2 separate regions of the Homo sapiens genome follow, and region 2 is linked to region 1. Evidence: promoter capture Hi-C in 16 types of primary human blood cells and fetal thymus (Javierre and others, 2016). All regions are on one chromosome and are shown on one strand. The core of a region is centred on a gene start or on the middle of the fragment in contact, and the rest is flanking DNA. Distances in the headings are between cores, read along the strand shown.

Region 1 (3,715 bases), core at 360-2,859:
CTTATGTGATCCGCCTGCCTCAGCCTCCCAAAGTGCTGGGATTACAGGCATGAGTCACCGCCCCAGCCTGAGAGTCTTTCCTAAGCCTCATTCTCCACACACTCTATCCTCCCTCCCCCAACCAACCAAACTGGACCGGAACAGGATGTTACACTCTCCTTCCAAGAACTCCTGCTGAGCCAGGGAAAACCACTTCCTAGCAGGGCAGGGGTCCCAGGCAGGAAGGGACGTTGGGGGGCCTACACCAGGCAGCCACAGCCTGGGAGCAGAGCCGGAGACATATTCACACAGTTAGGAGAACTAGAAGCAAACCCACAGAGTTGACAAAAAGCTCTGCCTCTTACTCCCAAATTCCCTTGTATACCTCTCCCTGTTTTCTTCCCATTTGGAATCTCAAGTCCCCTCCGTCCTGAATCTCTGCATCCTCACGCCTCTGCTGTCCCCTCTAGATGCCCCCCAACCTTCCCTGTCTCCAATCCCCCTCCTCTGGAGTTGTTCCCTTTTGACCTCCACTTTCTCAGTCTCAGTTCCCCTCCTTGGGGCCTCAATGGGCTTTTTACTGGTGACATCCCTTGTCCCACTCCCAAGCTTCCTCCCTTCTTCAAAAGGTCACATTTTGCCTCCAAGGACCCTGTTCCTGGAGGAGACTCCGCCCCCGCTCTGACACTCTTTCTCATTCGTTTTCTTTCCCAACTTCCAGCCCAAAGAACCCTTTCCTAGATCCAAAGCCCCAACCTGGGGGATAGGGGCACTCCTAAATCCAATGTTGAGTCTTTGCCCCAACAAAGATTCCTCCCCAGGTCTCACACTTTCAAGCCTACTCCCCACCCCACAAGATCTCTCCTCTTGGAAAGACCTATTCAGTTGCTCCCCATTCTTTCCGAGTGTCCATCTTACCTCCAGGTCCTCTCTCCTTTTACAGCGCTTTCCCAGACCCTTAAGTTTCATTCCCTACAGTTGCCTCCTTTTGGTTTCCTGTGCCAGGTCTCTTCTTGAGATCATCCCTCTCTCACAGGCAGTCTCCTGCCCCTGTCTCAACATCCCCTCTCCACCTGCAATCAGATCCTTGTCTCTAGAGACTCCTCCCATCAAGAAAACCTCCCTCCCCTTTTCCAAGGTCTCGCGTTCTCGTCCCAGCGCTCCCGCCACACTTCCAGAGCGCCTTCCTCTTTCGGACGCCCTCTCCCCACCTCCAATGCCTTCTCGCTACCCACAAGACTGTGTCTCACGAGTTTCCTCTCGTTTCAAAGCTTCCAACCATCTACAACGTTTCCCACCTGCACAGCCCTTTCCCCTTGGAACACCACCCCCAATGCCCGTCGCCGCGAGACCCCTGGTAACCCCCGCGCGCAGAATCACCGCCCTGTGCCCTCCTTCCCGGCCCTGGATCGGTCCCAATCCCCAGAGCCCGCGCCTGACCCAGACCATCCGCGGCAGAGAAGGGACTTGTCAGCGCCCGATCCAGCCTCGGCTATTTACGCGTGGGCCCCCCCTCCGCCAGTCCCCGGCGTAGCGCTCCCCCGTTACCATGGCGACCCCCGTCCAGACCCCAGCGGCCCCGGTCCCGCGGCGACTGGGCAGCTCCGGCTCAGGGTGCAGTTGTAGGGCCCAGAGCTAGAGCGGACTTCCGGTAGAAAAACCCGCCTGCCTTCTCGCGCACAGACCCCTGGGAGTTGTAGTTTCACCAAAGGGGCCAGCCTGGGTGAAGATGGGTGAAGAGTCAGAGCCAGTCCTTTTCCTACCAAACGAGTCAGATCCCAAGTGCATGCTGGGATTTGTGGACAAACATCTTTACAGAGGACTACAATTCCCGAGATGCTGAAGAACCAGCGGTGAAGGCGTTGCATTCAGGGAAATGTAGTTCTCTTAGGTCCCCTCCCCCCACCCAGGGGAGAAGGGCATGCTGGGAATAGTAGTTTTAAATTTTAAAAAACTGTCCTGGGGAGATAGAAAATGTCTTTCCATTCCTCATCCAGTGATTTCTTTAATTTTTTTAAAAATAGAGACAGGGGTCTAGATATATTGCCTAGGTTGATCTCGAACTCAGCTTCAAGCGACCCTCAGCCTTCCAAATCACCAGGATTACAGGCATGAGCCACCACAACACCAAGCCAGTGTTTTGCTTAAAATACGTTGCGTGTGTCTCTCGGGAGACAACAGTTTAAAAGCATAAATTTGAACCGGCCCGGCGCGGTGGCTTACTCCTGTAATCCCAGCACTTTGGGAGTCCGAGGCAGGCAGATCACTTGGTTAGGAGTTCGAGACCAGCCTAGCCAGCATGGCGAAACCCCATCTCTACTAAAAATACAAAAAATTAGCCAGGCATGGTGGTGCGCACCTGTAGTCCCAGCTACTCGGGAGGCTGAGGCAGGAGAATCACTTGAAGCCCGGAGGCAGAGGTTGCAGTGAGCCCAGATCTCGCCACTGCACTCCAGCCTGGGCAATAGAGAGAGACTCCAAAAAAAAAAAAAAATCTCTAGTTTGGCGGGGGCATGATGGCCCATGCTTGTAATCCCAGCACTTTGAGAAGCTGAGGTGGGTGGATCACCTAAGGTCAGGACTTCGAGACCAGCATGGCCAACACGGTGAAACCATTTCTACTAAAAATATAAAAATTAGCTGGGTGTGATGGCAGGTGCCTGTAATCCCAGCAACTCGGGAAGCTGAGGCAGGAGAATTGCTTGAACCTGGGAGGCAGAGGTTGCAGTGAGCCGAGATCACACCATTGCACCCTAGCTGGAATGACAAGAGCGAAACTCTGTCAAAAAAAAAAAAAACCCTCCAGGTCAGCAGTTAGTTTAGTGTTTTTTTGGTGTGTCTTTGTTTTTGCTTTTTTCTGAAAGAGGGTCTCCCTTGGTCACCCAGGCTGTAGCGCAGTGGCATGATCTCAGCTCACTGAAGCCTCAACCTGCTGGGCTCAAGTGATCCTCCCACTTCAGCCTCCCGAGTAGCTGAGACTACATACACATGCCGTCACACCTGGCTAATTTTTTGTACTTTTTGTAGAGACAGGGTCTTGCTATGTTGCCTAGGCTGCTCTTGAACTCCTGAGCTCAAGCGATCCTCCCTCCTCCACCTCCCAAAGTATTGAGATTACAGGCGTGATTTTTTAAATGGCCTTTATTACATTTTAAAAATTATTTTATTTGCCCTATGAGTATGTGTGTATGTTTGTCTAGATCTCTCATTAGGTAGTGAGTTGTTGAGGGCAGGGACCCTGTCTGATAACTGTATCTTCATTACCTAGAACATGACAGATGGTAAGCAGTCAATAAAGTTATTACTATTAGTACTGAGGGGAGATTGGCCCTAATAAGAACAAAGCATGCCAGGCATGGTGGCTCACTCCAGTAATCTCAGCACTTTGGAATGCCAAGGCAGGCAGATCACCTGAGGTCAGGAGTTCGAGACCAGCCTGCCCAACGTGGCGAAACAGCACCTCTAATAAAAATACAAAAATTGGCCGGGCTTGGTAGCACTTGCCTGTAATACCAGCTACTTGGGAGGCTGAGGCAGGAGAAGCACTTGAACCCTGGAGATGGAGGTTGCAGTGAGCCGAGATCGTGCCACTGCACTCCAGCCTGGGGGACAGAGAGAGAGAGAGACTCCATTTCAAAGAAATAATAATAATAAATTAAATAAATAAAACAAAATGTATTGTAGAATTATGTAAATTTAAGGTATAGTACTGGCAGAATAACCAACACATAGTTGT
Region 2 (3,715 bases), core at 535-3,034, 320 kb before region 1:
AAGGGTTTTGTTCATAGCTGTACCCCCAGTGCCTAGGACAGTGCCTGGCACATAGGAGATGCTCAATAATCATCTGTGGGATGAATGGCTGGACCTTCTCAGCACCTAGAGGTGAACCAGACACAGCCTGTGGGGGCGGGGCTACTGCCGGCAGAGAGGGAGGGAGGAGAGGATGACAGAGTGGCCAAGAAGCCAGCATGGAGAAGGGCCCGGGCAGGGGTGATGCTGGTGGGTAGGGAAGGTGTATTAGTCCATTTTCACATTGCTGATAAAGACATACCCGAGACTGGGTAATTCATAAAGAATAAGAGGTTTAATGGACTCACAGTTCCATGTGGCTGAGGAGGTCTCACAATCATGGTGGAAGATGAAAGGCACGTCTCATGTGCCGACAGGCAGGAGAGAATGAGAACCAAGTGAAAGGGGAAACCCCTTATAAAACCATCAGATCTCGTGAGACTTACTCACTACCACGAGAACAGTATGGGGGAAACTGCCTCCACGATTCAATTATCTCCCACCAGGTCTCTCCCACAACATGTAGGAATTATGGGAGTTACAATTCAAGATGAGATTTGGGTGGGGATGAGATTTGGGTGGGGACACAGCCAAGCCATATCAGCGGGGTGTTGCAGCTCCTGACCTCGCCCATTGGGAATCATGAGACGGAGCTTTGGGCTGCGGATGGAGCGCCCTGGAACACAGGCAGAGGAGCGACAGACAGCAGCCTGGGGGCAGAACAAGGGGCTACCCTTGAGCCCACCCCCACCCCCAGGGAATGGAGAAGGCCCGTGTGGAATGTTCTGGGCTGGAGCGTGGAGCATCCAGGCCTGACTCACTCATGCTCTCGATGTCCAGCGAGTCCACCACGGAGCGCTTGTGCTCGTCGCCTGCGATGGCCCGCTCAAAGGCCTTCTGCTTCACGATCTTGTTGCACTCCTGGTATTTCATTTTGGCATCCTTGTCGTGGGGCTTCACCTTGACCACCTGGGTGGGAGGGAAGGGGCGTGCACACTGAGGCCGAGGTGGGGGCACAGCGGCTGTCCCCAGGCTGCCCAGCCCTGGATTCCATGAACGCGGAAGTCAGGCTGCCCGGGCACCAGTGCTGATGGTGCAACCCTGGACATGTTTAACCTCCAAGTCTTGGTTTCTGCACCCCAAAACTGTCCATAGCTAAGCTGCTCACACCGGCACACTTCATCAACCTTAGCTATAACTACATTAAAATCAAACACCTTGCCCGTCTGAGGACCATGGGCTCAGCTCCTGGTCCCCCGTGGGAACCAGTGCAGGCAGCGACAACTCCAGGCTTCCCAGCCTTGGACTCCAGGACTTACGCCAGCTGCCCCTCAAATCCTCAGGCCTTTGGCTTCGGACTGAGAATTACACCGTTGGCTTCCCCAGTTCTGAGGCCTTCGGACTTGTTCTGAGCCACACTCCCTGCATCCCAGGGTCTCCAGCCTGCACACAGCCTCAGGACTTCTCCGCCTCCATAATTGAATGAGCCAGTTGCCCAATAAACCCCTTCTCCTATCTCTGTCTACACATATCCTGTTGATTCTGTCTCTTTGGAGAACTCTGATTAATATGCTTCCTCTATGAAACAAACAGGGCTGTTCCTAGCCATCTCCCAGCCCCTAGGGAGATGAAACGCCATGGCATACCTGGCCACCGCAGGGCTCAATTAAGATGAGCTGTAATTATTATTATTATTATTACTTTGAGATGGAGTCTCACTCTGTCACTCAGGCTGGAGTGTAGTGGCGCAATCTTAGCTCACTGCAACCTCCATATTCTGGGTTCAAGCAATCCTCCTTCCTCAGCCTCCTGAGTGGCTGGGATTACAGGCGCCTGACACCACCCCCAGCTAATTTTTGTATTTTTAGTAGAGATGGAGGTTTCACCATGTTGGCCAGGCTGATCTGGAACTCCTGACCTCCTGCCCACCTCAGCCTCCCAAAGTGCTGGGATTATAGGCATGCGCCACCGCACCTGGCCAAGGTGAGTTGTCATTATTCTTCTTATTGTTATTCCCACAGCCCTGGAGCCTGGGGCTCTGTGCCTTCTACTGCCTGCCAGACAGCGAGGGGCCTGGGCCAGCAGGGCCGTTCTCCTCCGTGCCAGCTCAGTGCCAGGCCCCTCTGGCTGCCTGCCCAGCCCCAGGACTCCTGAGAGCCTGGATCCGGGGTCCTGGGGGGTAAGGGGCCCCTCCCAAAGGCTGCTGTTGCCCGGAACTCTGACGCAGCCTCAGCAGCAACCCCCAAGCAGGCTGCTCCCATCCCAGGGAAGTCCACCTTCCACCCCATCACCCAGCTGAGACTGAGCCTCATCCTGGACTCCTCCCGACCCCTCAGCCCCCACAGCCCGGCAGTCACTTCACTTCTTCTGCCAAGTCGGCCTCCTGAACATCTCTCAGATCCAGCCATTCCCTTCTCACCCTCCAGCCCCACCCAGCCCTGACCTGGCCTCTCCTGCCCACGTTCCTGGCTCAGCCTCCACCTGGCCTCACAGCCTCTTGTCCTGCCCTTCCAGAGGGGTGTTCCTAAGGCACAAACCTGACCCTGTCCTTTCCCTACTCGGAACCTCCCAGGGCTCCCAGAGCCTCCCGCAGAAAGCCCTGGCTCTCCCCACGGCCCTGCGTGATCTGCTCCCTGCAGCTTCATCATAACCCCCACGCACACACACTGCAGCCCCACTCACCGCCTCCATGCTAGGCTCCGCTAACCTCTGGAACTTTGCCACCAGGTTCTTTCTGCCTGAAGGCCAAAACCATCAACCCCCTAGGGAGACCCCCAGGCATGCGTCCAGAGACCCAGCATCCCCCATCCCTCGTCCACTATGTCACCCCACTGTGAGAGCTGAAAGGTTGTTTCTGCCCATTCAGGGACAGAGCCTACCCCAGGAGGCCCACTAGATTCTCAGGCCCACCAGGGCCCATGAGTGGCAGGACCCACACTGGGGGACTGGGAGCTGTGACCCTCTAGGCTAACGGGGAACTATGGGAGCTCTGCCTGGGGACACAGGGCCCCAGGCCTGGGCCAGTTCAAGAGATGAGTGGCTGGCAGCTCCCAGCAGATCACCAGGCTGGGGACGAACCCTGAGGGTGAGAGAGACTCCTCTCCCAAACTAGGAGTGGGCTAGGGTCCTGGACTTTGCCCCAACATCCCCCTCCCACGCCCTGCACGCCTTCAGCCCACACCATTCCACGCTTTCAGCCCACGCCTTCTGCGGCCTCCCCGTCGGGTCCAGCCTCAGCCTCACCCGTCCCATTCATCCACATGACATCGCAAACTTGACCCTCCCCCTCCCTTATTCCAAAATTTTCTCTAGTTCCCCAGTGCCCCGGGAACAAGTCGGGTTCCTATGAAGCCCTGTATCCCGCAGTCCCACCTTCTCCCCAGTGTTAAGCTCTACTCAGGTGGGGTTCCTCTGCCTCCCCCTACCGGGCTGTAAACCCCCCGGGAAGGTAGGACCTGGGCTGTTTCAGTCCCCATCTAGGCAGGATCAGACCCTGGTGAATGCATGTGGAGGGAAGAAAGGGAAAGAAAGGGAGGAAGGGACAGAATAAGAAGGGGAGGGAGGGTGGTGCCCTTTAAAATCAAAACCTCTGGTTTCATCTTTCTTCCCTGAACTGGCTCCCCACGCCCACCAGAGGGCGCTCTGACCCAGCAAATTCCTCATACAGCAACAGCCCGTTCTACACACAAAAGGGAAT

The links. Contacts are between HindIII fragments. The CHiCAGO score rates a contact against its expected background, and 5 or more counts as called.
Region 2: a contact is called between a fragment that was not itself captured here and the fragment with the promoter of AP2S1 in region 1, in 1 of 17 cell types (total B cells). The highest score is 5.8, in total B cells.

Annotation. Positions count from the first base shown.
Region 1 is chr19:46,849,237-46,852,951 of GRCh38, forward strand. It overlaps AP2S1 (adaptor related protein complex 2 subunit sigma 1), which reads right to left and starts at 1,610. Exons shown (of 5, transcript NM_004069.6): 1 at 1,528-1,610. The coding sequence starts at 1,530. RefSeq lists an enhancer at 1,625-1,934. The HindIII fragment of the contact is 13,627 bases long and covers 1,249-3,715 here.
Region 2 is chr19:46,526,086-46,529,800 of GRCh38, forward strand. It overlaps the pseudogene PPP5D1P. Among named protein-coding and RNA genes, the nearest start is that of PNMA8B, 32 kb to the left of the region's middle. The HindIII fragment of the contact is 4,232 bases long and covers 1-3,715 here.